Regions from separate parts of the Homo sapiens genome. Here region 2 is linked to region 1. The links are contacts of gene promoters, found by promoter capture Hi-C in blood cells and fetal thymus (Javierre and others, 2016). All regions are on one chromosome and are shown on one strand. The core of a region is centred on a gene start or on the middle of the fragment in contact, and the rest is flanking DNA. Distances in the headings are between cores, read along the strand shown.

What was found. Contacts are between HindIII fragments. The CHiCAGO score rates a contact against its expected background, and 5 or more counts as called.
Region 2: a fragment that was not itself captured here is called in contact with the fragment with the promoter of GABRA3 in region 1 in 1 of 17 cell types (megakaryocytes); the score reaches 5.1 in megakaryocytes.

The regions. Positions count from the first base shown.
Region 1 is chrX:152,447,307-152,453,833 of GRCh38, reverse strand. It overlaps GABRA3 (gamma-aminobutyric acid type A receptor subunit alpha3), which reads left to right and starts at 2,519. Exons shown (of 10, transcript NM_000808.4): 1 at 2,519-2,688. The HindIII fragment of the contact is 3,586 bases long and covers 884-4,469 here.
Region 2 is chrX:151,750,952-151,757,478 of GRCh38, reverse strand. No RefSeq gene overlaps it. Among named protein-coding and RNA genes, the nearest start is that of CNGA2, 19 kb to the right of the region's middle. The HindIII fragment of the contact is 3,367 bases long and covers 1,699-5,065 here.

The DNA of each region.
Region 1 (6,527 bases), core at 1,270-3,769:
TCTTAATCCAACTTATTTATATTAAAATATCTTTTCTTTAAAATAAATGGTGGCACCCAGATGGTTTATTTGTTTGTTTGGTATCTTTATTAGATGAAAAGTTTTCAATTGTAGTAGACTGAATAGTGTCCCCCAAAATTCATGTTCGTCTATAACCTCAGGGTGTGACCTCATTTCAATGGTATGGTATTTGCAAAAGGAAGTAGTTAAAGATCTTGAGATGAAATCATTCCGGATTTAGGTTGGGCCTTAAATCCAATGACTGGTGTCTTTATAAGAAAAAAGAGGGAGATTTGGGCACACAGAAATCAGAGGAGAAGACCATTTGAAGACCGAGGCAGAGATTCAGTGATAAGCCAAGGAACACTGGAAACCACCAGAAGCTGGAAGAGACAAGAAATCATTCTCTAGAACTTTTGGAGTAGTTTGACCCTGCCAGCATCTCGATTTTAGACTTCTGACCTTCAGAACTGTGAGACAATAAATTTCTGTTGTTTTAAGCTACTGAATTTATGGTAATTTGTTATGGCAGCCCTAGAAAACTAATACAGCAACCTTAATATTTCTTTTTGCCAGTATACTAATCTATTAAATCCAATGGACATTTATGCAAACAAATCTACACATGAAAATGGGTACCTATGCAGGAAAAAGTATTTATAGCTTTATGCTCACATACACACTTGCTTTATGTGCAAGTTACATGTTAATTTTGTAGAGAAAAATACTGTACCTGCAGTCAGCAATCTGAGTACTGGCCTTGATTCTGCCACTGACTCACTATGACCTTGTGTGAATTATATTTTCTATTTAGTCTAGTTTCTTTTTCTGTACAATGACATGGTTATCTTTATGGGTCCCTTTAGCTCAGTGACTCTAAGCTTACGAGTACCTATCTATCTTCTACTCAATGTATGGACACATGCTTTTGAAGATGTATAGGAGTGTAGCACATGTACTTCATTTGGCAGGAGTAGAGAGCATTAGAAATTTGGGGGAAAAAAACCAACAGGATGGTAGTTTAAAGAGAAATGGCACACTATGGGCAACATTGTAAATGCCTATTATGTCCCAGTCACTGTATGTATATTGACACTAGTATACTTAAACACACTATATAACTCACTTTCAATTAGATGCCCTCTGAATTTTTCTAACAGGACTAGAAATCACAATATGAAGAGTTTGACTAAGAAAACTTTTATACTAATCATTATATGTAAGCAGATGCTGAATTCTTTGATAGGAACAGCTCTTTATTCACGTGCTTATATTGGTATTATCCCTGAAACACAAAAGATGGAATGTTGAATCAATGTGATTTGGAGTCGCATTTGGGGACTCACCTTTGGAGAACTTTTGAAATGTGGCAGTTTAGTTTTTATTTTCTAAGGGCCAACTTCTCCTTTACCTGGAATTTTCCTGTCTTTAGATTCCTAGACTGTTAGTTCTGGAAGGGTCTTTTAAGATCATCTATTTCCATTACCATTCATTTGGTCACTGAGGATATTGAGGGCCAGATTGAAGAACTCGTTGAAAGCAACACAGCAATTTTCAGAGGCAGAACTCAAACTCAAGTTCCTTTATTTTATTTTTAGCCTAGGTCTTTTTCCACTCTATGCTGCATTGTTACTGTGCTTTGCCTAGGTTGCTTTTTTTCTTTTGACCCAATGGGAATATAGTTCTTTTATACTTTGAGTCAATAATTATCCTTCTCCCCACCTTAGTCCTTGTGCAACTCATGTATAGGCTCACACAATTACATACATCTATATTCCCTTTGGAATTTTTGAAAAGAAAGCATTGTGGTTCTGCTGCTTGTCTGTCTTACCTACAGGGAAGCTAGAACTGATAGTTTTGAATTGGGTCTGCACTTCTACTTGGTTGAGGGTGGGGGTGGAAGTTAGGTCAACAGGGGATCAATGTGGCGGAACTCTTTCTTCTTAGTGGAGTATGAATGACAACCCCTTTGATGTACATTTTTCTAGCTCATTATTGTCCCCAGAGATGGAATCTGAACAGACAGGATTGTCAAACCTTTATTTGCAGCCTGGGTTAGAAGGCACGCCCATAAGGATATAAGGGAGACAGAGGGAAAAAGGAGGAAGCTCACTCTTCAGTCTCGGAGCAGCAAGTAAGCATCACACATCAGCTACAGTAACCCATACTTCCTTTATCCTCCTATTCGCTCATACCCTTTTGCTCTCTTTCTCTTCCCTTTGCTGCCTCTGCTCCTCCCTTTCTCTCTGGGCTTCCCTCTATTTCTCTGTTGGATGCCTTAAGGAATAAAATACTACTTTAGTATTTCGTAAAACAACCACATCTAAAGCCTTGCAGTACTGTATTCAGAGCCCCAGCACAGCCGCGTGCTAAGCACCAGTGGTGAACCTAAAGCCAGCAAAGGGGGAGGGGAGAAGGGGAGGGGAGGAGGGGAGGGAGAAACTGACAGAGAGGGAGGGAGGCAGATTGAGAGAGAGAGAGAGAGAGAGAGAGAGAGAGAGAGAGAGCGAGAGAGCGTGAGCGCGCGCAAGCTAGCGAGCAAACCAGAGAGACAGACCGAGAGAGGGACCAGGAGAGAGACCCAGAGAGAGAAGAAGAAGCCAGAAGCCGAGCTCTGTCAGGGCTCAACCTCCAACTTGTTTCAGTTCATTCATCCTTCTCTCCTTTCCGCTCAGACTGTAGAGCTCGGTAAGAAACATTGATGTTCCTTCTTCCCCCTCCCCCAAGCTCAGGTCTCCTTTAGCGATAGCATCTCTCCCCCGTACTGAGAGTCTCCTTGGGTTGGCCGGGAGGCGAGGCATGCTCTGCAGCTGTGATGCTATCCTGGGTTCCCCAGTGGGGCTGGTGGAAGCCCAGAGGCGGCATCTGAGCAGGGAGACACTGGGGTAAAACCCGATTTGAGGAAGGGGGGTTGCGATGTGGTATATGCGTGATTTGCTTCATTGTCAGTGAATTGTTTTGTTCCTCTTTGGAAGCAGGTCAGCACTGACCTTGCAAATTGCTTGGGGGGCCCCAGCAGCTGCTGCAGAAAGCCACGGAGTGGCCCCTAGCCAAAGCAGACAGCACTGTCATGACCCCCCAGACAGCTCTAGGCACCAGGGATGTAGTAATGGCTGGAGCTTTCTCCCTTCTTTAACTCTTTCTCCGCAGCTGCTTCTCACTGCTGGAAATAAGAAAGAAGGAGGGTACCTTGCAGCCTCTTTCCCCATCTCCCCATTACCTCCCCCACATGCAAGTGAGTAGAAAGTTGTAAATAACTGCTTCCTTTAAAGCAGATTGAGCCCTCCCCCCTTCCTTTGAGGGGCTCACTGTGGGGTTGGGCCTGACTTCCTCCACAAACTTGGGAGGTTTGCCTTGTTTCCCGGCGAGAAGCTCCATTGCCTGCCCACCCTCAATTCCAGATAATTGAGCTGACATCCTAGATCAGAGATTGAGATACCCCACCCCATCTCACTCATAGGCATCATGTTAAGTCCAGCTGTGTCCTTGGAAGGGAGGAAACACCTGATGGTTTGTCTGCAACTGGCCTCCCAGTTTGTTGCTCCTCTGACTGTGGCTGTGGCTGTGGCTGCGGGTGGCATGGGCAAGAGGACTGGGGGAAGGGTGGCTGTTGGATTTATGGAAAGCAGGGTGATGAGGTAGGATTACTAACGTGAGTAGTTTGGCTTATTGAGAGTCAGCAAGTTCTGGTTGTCTGGAGCTCTGCAAAGACTGATTGAGGCTCTTGTAGTATAGCCCTTCAGAACTGGTAGGGGAAGGGATCCAATTGTTTGATGGGAGCTTTCTAAGTGAGTGACGCTGCTGTGCCTGTGGTAGTAATTCTGACATCCCTAATACTAATTGCTAAAATTATCGAGTATGTAGTATATTTTGGATTCTGGGCTGAGTGTTTGGTGTGTATTACTTCATTAAATTACTGTAGCAGAATAGTGCATTGAATAACAGACACTATTATTATCTTTGGTTTACTCACAAAATTGAGGCACAGAGAGGTTAAGTAACTTATCCAAGATTACAGAGCAATTACATGTCTCAGTTGGAAATTAAACTGGCAACCTGGTTCCAGAATCCGTGGTCTTAACCATGAAGCACTACTGCCTTCTTGGGGAGAATTTTGCACCTTTGTCTGTTAGGCAAGTGTAGATACAATAGGTACAGTGTGGCTTGGCAAGGTTTTTTGGAAAGTAGCGGCCTGGCTTTCGTGTAGAGTAACAGCAACTCAGCCTGGAGCCGGGCTTCACCTGGATTTCTGGAGGGGCTGCCCAAAAGACTTTGATTGGTCAGCTTCCTTTCCTTGAAAATCGTACTTCACTTTTTATAGCCTCATCCACCCAACATGCTCCAAACTGCACCTTTTAAAAACAGACCTCATTCTTATTTCCTGAGCATTTGGAGTTGTTCTGTGCCGAAAATTTTAGAATACTAAAACCTTGGAACTGGAAGGAGCCCAAAAGGTCATTCATTAAGCTTTATTTCTCTACTCAGTTCTTGAATTTATCCTAAGCATCCAATTTGTTGACTGATTTCTAGTTGAACTCCCTGCAGTGACAGAGAGTGCATTAGGTGGCTCTTTGTGTCATGGAGCAACTCTGATTGTCAGAAAGTATTCCCCATCATAAGCCAAAGTCTGTTTCCCAGTAACTTATATTCGTTGGTTCTTTGGGACTATCTGGAACAAATTTGCTTTTTCTTAATAATAGTTCTTCAGTTAGTTGAAGACAGCAATCATGCCTCCCTCTTAACCCTTGGATCCAATAAGACCACAGAGTAAAGGATTATCATTTACTTCATGCTGGATATTAGACTATTCTTAATATGGCCTAATAGCCCACTTGTTTTGTTAGCCACAAATTGACCCTACGGAGTTTTCTAGAGCAGCCCTGATAGTGTATATTCTCTTCCTTGGATGAGCTTGCTATCTGGTGTCAACTGGACTGATGGGAGCAAGGAAGGTCGCTTTCATATTCCTAAAGACCAGAAATTGGTTAGTACTAGTCCTTCTAAAGCCCCCAGGATGTCTATATGGCATCCGGACAATAGGCGTGTGGGAAGATTTGAGTGGCAGGAATTTTCATAAAGAAAATTATGAAATTTTCTAATTTCATGAAGAAAAGTACCACATTTGAAATAGTGGTAGTTCAAGGTTCATACAGTATGCAGAAGGTAGAAGAATATATTGTTTTATCAGAAAACACCTCAGGAATAATTACATCACTGAGGGGATACAATGCAGTGGGACTGGGTGGAAAGGGGTGAGTATGTGGTTGCTAGAATGGAACACTGACTTGGCTGTTAGCAAATTTGGGTTCCATTCCTAGCTCAGATGATTTGCTGATTATCTTGGACATATGACTTCCCCTCCATGTGCCTCAGTTTTTCCATCTGTAAGATGTTGAGATGGACTGTGTCTCTGAGGGTCTTTCAACTCTGAAATTCTCTATCTGAAGTAAATTATAAGATTTCAGAGTTATGAGAGGCTTCGGAAATCGTTAGGCCAGTGCTTCTCAAACTTTAATGTGTAAAAATATCTCCTGGGAATCTTGTTAAAATGCGAATTGTGATTCAGAGAGTCTATGGCAGGGGCCTCGGATTTTGCATTTTAGCAATCTATTAGGTGATCCTGAAACTGCTGTTCCACTGACCACACTTCAAGTAGCAAAGCTCTAGTAGAGTACTGGTCAAACTCCCCTAGTGAAGGAAAATGTTTGTTGTCATTTGTTTGTTTGTTTCCTAATCCATCACAGAAGACTGTTAATTTAGTAAAATAAATTAACCATGAATTACTAGAAAATGAAAGAAAAGACATACAAAAGATAAGCCCGCATTTGTATTATTAGATTCTACAGACATAAAATGATTTTTTCAAATTGCTGTAACATTTTCTAAGTGCTTACTCTTGACTTCTGTACTTTGGTCCTTACTGCCTGGTAATAAAAGTTCACAGACAGGCACTGATTTGGCGGGCTACATTTTGAGTGCACTGGTCTAGGCTACCTGCCCATCTAATTTAAGAGGCCCAAATTAGACCCAGCTTTAATTTCTAAATCACCTGTCATGATCTTTTACCCTACAGTTAAATATCTCCTTTAATGAAGAATTTAACATTTACACAAAGTTGCATTGTTCATGTGTTGTGACAGATAAAATGTTTGTTTTTTCTTAAAACTCTTAATTTCCTTAGAGTTTCTACAAATTACGCTTTCAGTTATATATTCCAAGTGGGTGAAGGGCTGTATCAGTTCAGTTAATTATACCGTTAGCCATTAGCCTAGTATATGACATAGAGTAGGAGGCTTAACAGATGTTTTTTAAATAAATGAATGAACCATTTGACATTAGTTGTGGGGCCATACATTCAATAAAGGAAAGGTAATTTGGGCTTTCTTCTGCATTGGGGAAACAGGATTCATCCCATTTTAAAAATTTCTTACAGTGGATAGAAAGCCAACTTGACTACTTCAGAGGGTTACTTGGTATCTCAATTTTATTTTGAAGGGATTGCTGGAGTGGGCCATTATAAGGCTGTT
Region 2 (6,527 bases), core at 2,133-4,632, 700 kb after region 1:
CTGTTGTATGTACAAATGGAGAAATCTAGCTTGTTGACTTAATGCCAGGCTTAAAGGAAACCACACACGTATAGTGTCTGGAGCAAAATGGGCCTGTGGTGGGCCAAAATCACCACAGCTAGAAAACCCTTGGAGACCATTTAGTCCAGTCTTCTGTTGAAAATGGGGACACTGTGGCCTAGTCTTGCCCAATATCACTTCCATTCAGGACTCCAACATAAATCTCCCGGAGCTCGTACTTCCCTGAATATTAAATTCGTCTTTCAGAAATAGCACAAATTCACTTTCCACTTGTATCACAAGGTTGAAGAGTGGCTGTGGGTGTAGGGGTGTGTGGGCATGGGTGTGAAACATGCTAAGAAAATCACTTAACACACAAACACACATGTGTCCCCACATCTCTGATACATGTGTGCAGACTCCACAGGCGAAGAATCTCGCTCTGTTATTCCTAACTTTGACTTCTGATCCCAGTTCTTTAACTTTCTGAATGTAGGGCTCAGAGTCCCCAGCTGTATAATGGGACACTTAAGACAATGTTTGTGCAGCCACCACCATGTCCACTCCCTTGAGACTCTGCGAGTCCCCAGAAAGCCATTGCCAGCATCCTCTAGCAGGTTTTGGTGCAATGGCAGAAATGATGATCTGTGTGTAACATCTCTAGGAGCTGCCCTGGCCTGGGAATATGACTGGGGAGGGTTGGTGGCTTTTCTGGGTCCAATGCCTTCAGCTCAGTGCAAAGTCTGTCGAGGCTATATCCTTCTACTACCTTCCTTTCTCCCGCTTCATGTACCACTGGATCCAGAGGCTGGTCCCAGGAGTCTGCTGCTTGGGATGCTGGGAGCTGGGAGGAAGAAGGGTGGGCTAGAAGCCTGAAACATAGGGAGGAGACAGACTGAGAAGGAAAGGGAAGAGAAGGGGCTTGGAGGATAAGCTGGAGCAAGAACTGTGAGAAGGGAAGAGGGATGATGAGAGGTGAGGCAGAAGCAGGGACTAGGCTGCTGGAAAAGACAGAGCCATAGGGAGGAGAGAGGCAGGCAGCAGGAAAAGATGGCTGAGCCATCCTGAAAGACAGAGAAGAGGAGGATGGGAGGATTCGGGAGGACAGAGAAAAAAGTGCCTGGGGAGGGGACAAAGAATGACATGGGGGAAGGAAAAAGCGAGCTTTAGAGGGGGAGATAAAGCAGGGAGGAGAAAAGGGGAAGCAAAAGGGGGAGAGGAGGGAAGAGTGGTCTCAGAGGCAAAAGGAGGAACAGAAGAAAGGGCGAGGAGGAGGGAAAGCAGATGAGAGAGCCACAGAGGGAGAAAGAAGCAAGGAAGGAGGAGGGGCAGGAGGAAGAGGAGCAAGAGAGCAAAGAGAGGAGAGAGAAGCACAAAAAGAAAGGAGTTGGAAGGGGAGCAAAGAAAGGTAAAGGCAAGGAGTGCCACTGCAGATGGCATCTGTGACCCAATTGTGAGGGGTGACCAAATCCAAGCCTGGGAAGACCCATTTCAAAAGGAACATGACAATGGCCTGCCGCTTGTCTCTCAAGAGTCCTTGTGGCATTTCCCCAGCAGAGGGGAGCCAGCTCATGACCTGCCAAGACCCCTTCCACTCCACCAGTGACCCTTTCATGCCCCCTCCGAGTGAGCCCTGCCACCCAGCAAAGCTGAACACCAAGCTCTGCATGTTGGCCTGGCATGAGAGTCAGCTAAGCTTTTCCACCTGTCATCACTCTGCCGCCATAAGTTGCCAGGATAGGGTCCCAGATATCTCCCTCACTCTCTTCTTTTCTTCTTCTCTTCCTCCCTTATTTCCTCCCCTCCTTTCTTCTTTCCTCTTTCCCTTCTTCTTGCCTTCCTTCTCTCCCTCTCTCCTTCCTTTCTTATTCCTTTCTCCATTCAGAGCTGGCCACAGCCTTACCTCACCTCCACGCCCCTCAATCCCACAATGGGGGAGGCGGAGGTCTCGGCCCAGCCCTAGGTCTAGGTTGAATCCCCAGAGCGGAAGCCAGGTAGAACCCAGGAGTGTGTATGGCAGTAATCTCAAAGCTGGCCACTCAGTACAGTCACCACCCCTTTGAGTAGCAGAGAAAAGCTGCTTCCAACTCCAAGCTGTGGCTTTGTAGGGCCAGTAATTCAAAGTACTAGTGATTTACTAGTGGCCCTGATCTAGTGATGGTCACTGGTTATGAAAACTACTCTTAAAATAATGGGCAGATATTAACCACTAAATAAGATTTTCATGCCATTCGAAAACGATTCAATACATGACAAGATTTGAAAATAGAAAAATCAAGTTTTAGCCAGCTCCATCTCAAAATCCTCAAATGTCACCAATCAGGACTTACTCCATCTGGCTATGATGTTATCTCCGCAATTGGGTAAACAACCCACCAGAAACCTGGGTTTCCGGCCCACAGTGGCTCAGTCTGGGGATGCTATCACTTTGAGGTTCAGGAGCAACTTTGGGTTGGCATGACCACAGCAGCCGGTGTTTTGAACCGCACACTCCACTCCTTTCTGCACACAGTACCTGAAACTGTTCCATAACAGGTACAGTTAGCTCTCGGCACGTTTACGCACAGTCACTGCCTCGCCTGCCTTGTCTTTGAGCCAAGGAAAACTGTTTTCTGTTCCACATGGTCAGAGCAGAAAAGGAAGAACAAGACCGTGCCTGTAAAATGAGATGCTGGCAGAGTTCCTGTTTCTCAGATTCTTTACTCCCCCACCTAGCCCTCAGTCCACATCTGCACAAAACTGGTCTATTCTCTGAAACGTCTGCTATGCTATGGACACACCGGACACAACATTGTTTCCTAAAGGGCTGTATTTTTATTTCATAGGCATAATAGAAAACAGCAAGCACCTGAAAAAAATCAAGAAATACACTGGTTTTCCCATTCTTTTAAAAATATTTGTTGGCATCTACTCTGGGTCAGGCACTGGACAGAGACAATGCAATCAAGCAACAAGAGGTGACTTGATTGAATGGGGCTGGGGAGATCTCTAGAGACCCCCCAGATCAGGGTGGCTTTAGAAAAGAAGTCTGTTTCACCTTGAAACCTGAGGGACCCAGTGCTTACAAAAGAGAGAGAAAAGGGGAGAGACATGAGCTAAGGCTTCCGGGCCTGGCCTGAGGAAGCAATGCTCCTGGGCCACTGGTAGTACACCCAAATTGTTGCACTGGTTTTGAGGCGGGGCTTCAACTCAGCCTCTCTAAGCACATTGCATATCCAAGTGCTCAGCAATTAAATCGATCCACAGAGGTGACTCACAGGCAGCCAGCCAGCACAGTCACGGAGCCCTGTCTGCATTACCAATTTGCCTGCTCAAGTTGCTGCCTTGTTAATGTTATTTACCAAGCCCGATGCCCTGAATACCTGTCCCTAGCCCCTGCTGGAGCCCTCCAGCCATTGTCCCTGTTCGCCTGTCACATCTTGTCACTACCTCCCTGAATTCAACAGGTTTGGGCAGCCTGTCTGCAGACCTGCCTCCTCACTCTTGTATCTCCAGGAGCCAGGAAGGTGGCCTAGCAGTCCCAGCCTTACCCTCTCTCAGAACAGGTCCCAGAGGTGAATGGCCTACAGCTCAACCCTCCTCCCTTTCTTTGGGCAAGAGATGGAATGGGTTGCCGACAAAAACCCTGCAGGGTGGCACCGTGTAGTTGGCAAATGTGGCCATTGAGAGGAGAGGGTGAGGGCAAAGGCTCCAAGGGGGATGTGGAGATGAGGAGATCTGAGGCAGGCGCTGAAGAGCTTCCTCCTGCCATGCCCTGTGCCTGCAGCTGCCCTGCTCAAATTCTTTCTTCGCCAGAGGGTCTTGGGGCGCTCCCACTCCTGGAGTACAGGTCGTGCAAAAAAGCTCCCGCTACGTGGAGATTGAGCAAGGGCTTGGCAAGCCCAACGGTGCGCTCGAATCGCGGTGCAAGAGCGTCCCCACCATTCTTTACGGCCGGAGGTGGAACAGCAGCAGGGCGAGCTGTCTGGAGCCCGAGGCAGCCTTAGCTTGGTCAGCCAGGCGCTGTCCAGACCTGGCCCAGGCTGCTGCCCCACCCAGGCCTCTTGCCCAGCCCACTTCAGTCGGCCTTCCAAGACTCGGATCCCGAAAGCTGTGCCCCCTCCAGCACCAGGCAAACAAGCTATATCTTGGTGGAGCAGATTCCACCTTCACAGAGCCAGAGTGCAACAGAATGCCAGAACAGAAGGGTCTCCAGAGACCTTACCCGTTATATAGATAACAAAACAGAGGCTACGGGTTCAAGGAAGTGCCTTGTCCACAGGCAACCCTGGGAACTCCTGATTATTATCTCACCACTGTTCCCATCCAGCTTCAGTCCTGAGCCCCTGTGACCATCCACCTTGCCTTTCTAGACCAACAAAGAGAGTGGGTCTATGCCCCAGGGACTCAGACCCTCAAGAGCCAGAGACCCACGCCTACGGTTCCCTAGGATGCCTACACCTCCAGCTGGCCTCTGATTCCACCACTCCAGGAAGAAGTTGGAGGCACTTGGATATGGCACAAACCCAGGTTATGAAACCCAGTTGGCACTTAAATGACCTAACAACAAATTGCCCAATTTAATTTGCTTACCCGATTCAATAAAGGAGAAACAAGAAACCCAATCTAATTAAAAACATTGATCCGTAGAAACTGGCAACTCCAAAGTCCTGGCTGGAAGTTTGAGCTTAGACAAACTTGAATGATGCAAGTGTACAAGCTGAGGTAAGACGAATCTATCCTCTGACTCCCCAGGAGGGCTGCAAACGGCCTGCGAACTTCCTTTCTTAAAATAAGTGGGAAACTGAACCCAAAAGGGAAAGAAATTTGTTCAGTTCACCACTGAGATCACTTTAACTCCAGGATCTGTAGAGCCCAGGAGAGAGTTAGGTTCATGCTCCACTGAACCCCCTCCTGGCCACAGACTGAGGCCATTGGTCTTGCTCTTCAACACTCTTGCTCACTTGGCTTGTGGGACCTGGCATCTCATCCTGCTTGCCCATCGAGCTCCTCTGCATCTTTCAAGACCCTGGGCAAATATCACGTTCCAGGGACAAATCTGTCCAAAGAAGACAAGACAGAAGCTTGCTGAGGCCCCCTTAGCACTGCCCAGTTTGAGTCATGTGAATATGCAGTTAGGCTGGCAGTGCTGGGAAAGAGCAGGGTCTTCCTCAAGCCTAGGGAAGCCAAGGAAAGAGGCTCTATTGGATACTGTCCTCTTCCCCAGCTACCCTACTGTGCTATGTTCCAGATTTCCAGGAATAGAATAGTCCAAGTCCCCAGAAAATGGGAGTGGAACAGGACCAAGCTTAGGTTACAGGGCTCCCAGGCCAGTGTTCCTACGGGCCCTCTCTAAGCGTGGCCTTGGTCCCAGCCACAGCATTGAGTCCCTTTTGGACCTGGGCTTAGCAAACATTTTATCTAGAAAGGCATCTTCATCACCCTCCCCGTCAGGCTAACTGTAACTGGCTTGGTTTCAGGTCCTAAATCAGGGCTAGATTGTCCTTCCAGGGAAATGTCTGCCTCAGAGAGAAGCAAAATCACTTAGTTCTTGGCAGCTCAGTCTCTGCCAGGGGGAAGTTGACCTGCCACTGAACCCACAGCCAGTATGGCACACCACTCCTCCTGCTGGGGCCAGCTGGTACCCCATGCCTGCCTACCCCAGCTCCCTGTTCAACTGGGGAGCTCTACCTCAGCAGAGCTCCCTGGGGACCAAGTCCACACCCACTCTCCTCCTCCACACACATACCCTCTTGCAAGTAGCTTTGGCTATAGGAGGGTAGCATGAATCTCACACAGCCCCATCCTCCAGGAGCAAGGAAGGGGGAAAGCCACAAATACAGATGATAGCTGAGTCACACTTGTTTATAGGGGATCAAAGAAGGCTTTGGGAGGGAGGTGACATTAGAGGTGACTTTGAAGGATTAGAGGAATGTTGCAGACAGATGTAGGGATAGAAGTAGGTGTAAGCCGAGTTTCTCGTGGGACAGCTCCAGTTGGGTTACGGAATACCAAGGAGTTTTGTGTGAGCAAAACCTGCAGGGCTATGAGGATGGGCAGAGAGAAGCAGCTAAGGATATGGGGTTTAGTCCATTAGAGAAAAAAGAGGAGGCCAGCCCCTAAGAAGTTCCCAGTATTGGGCATGTACAGAACACTGAGGTACCAGTAGCTGCTCTAGGTGCTACAGATGTAGTGGGGGCCAGCACAAAGGTCTATCTCAGGGAGCTGACATTCTAATTGGGGAAACAAGCAATAAACAAGGAAACCAATGAACAAGAAGATTGTGGAGGGTGCTAAGTGCTGTTAGGAAAACCTCACAGGGTGCCGAGATCAGCATGACTGGGAGGCTGGGGGCTCTTTTCATTGTGGAGTCCTGAGGACAAGAAGCCAGTCACAGAAGTTCCAGAGGAAAAGAGAGCAACACATAAAGACAGCAAGCGCAAGGCTGCCAAGGGACAGAGAAGCTGGGTGTGTCTGAGGAACTCAGAGGAGACTGGAGGACCTGACTCCAGAAGAGGCCAGGAGAGAAAGCAGGTGAGGCCAAGGAT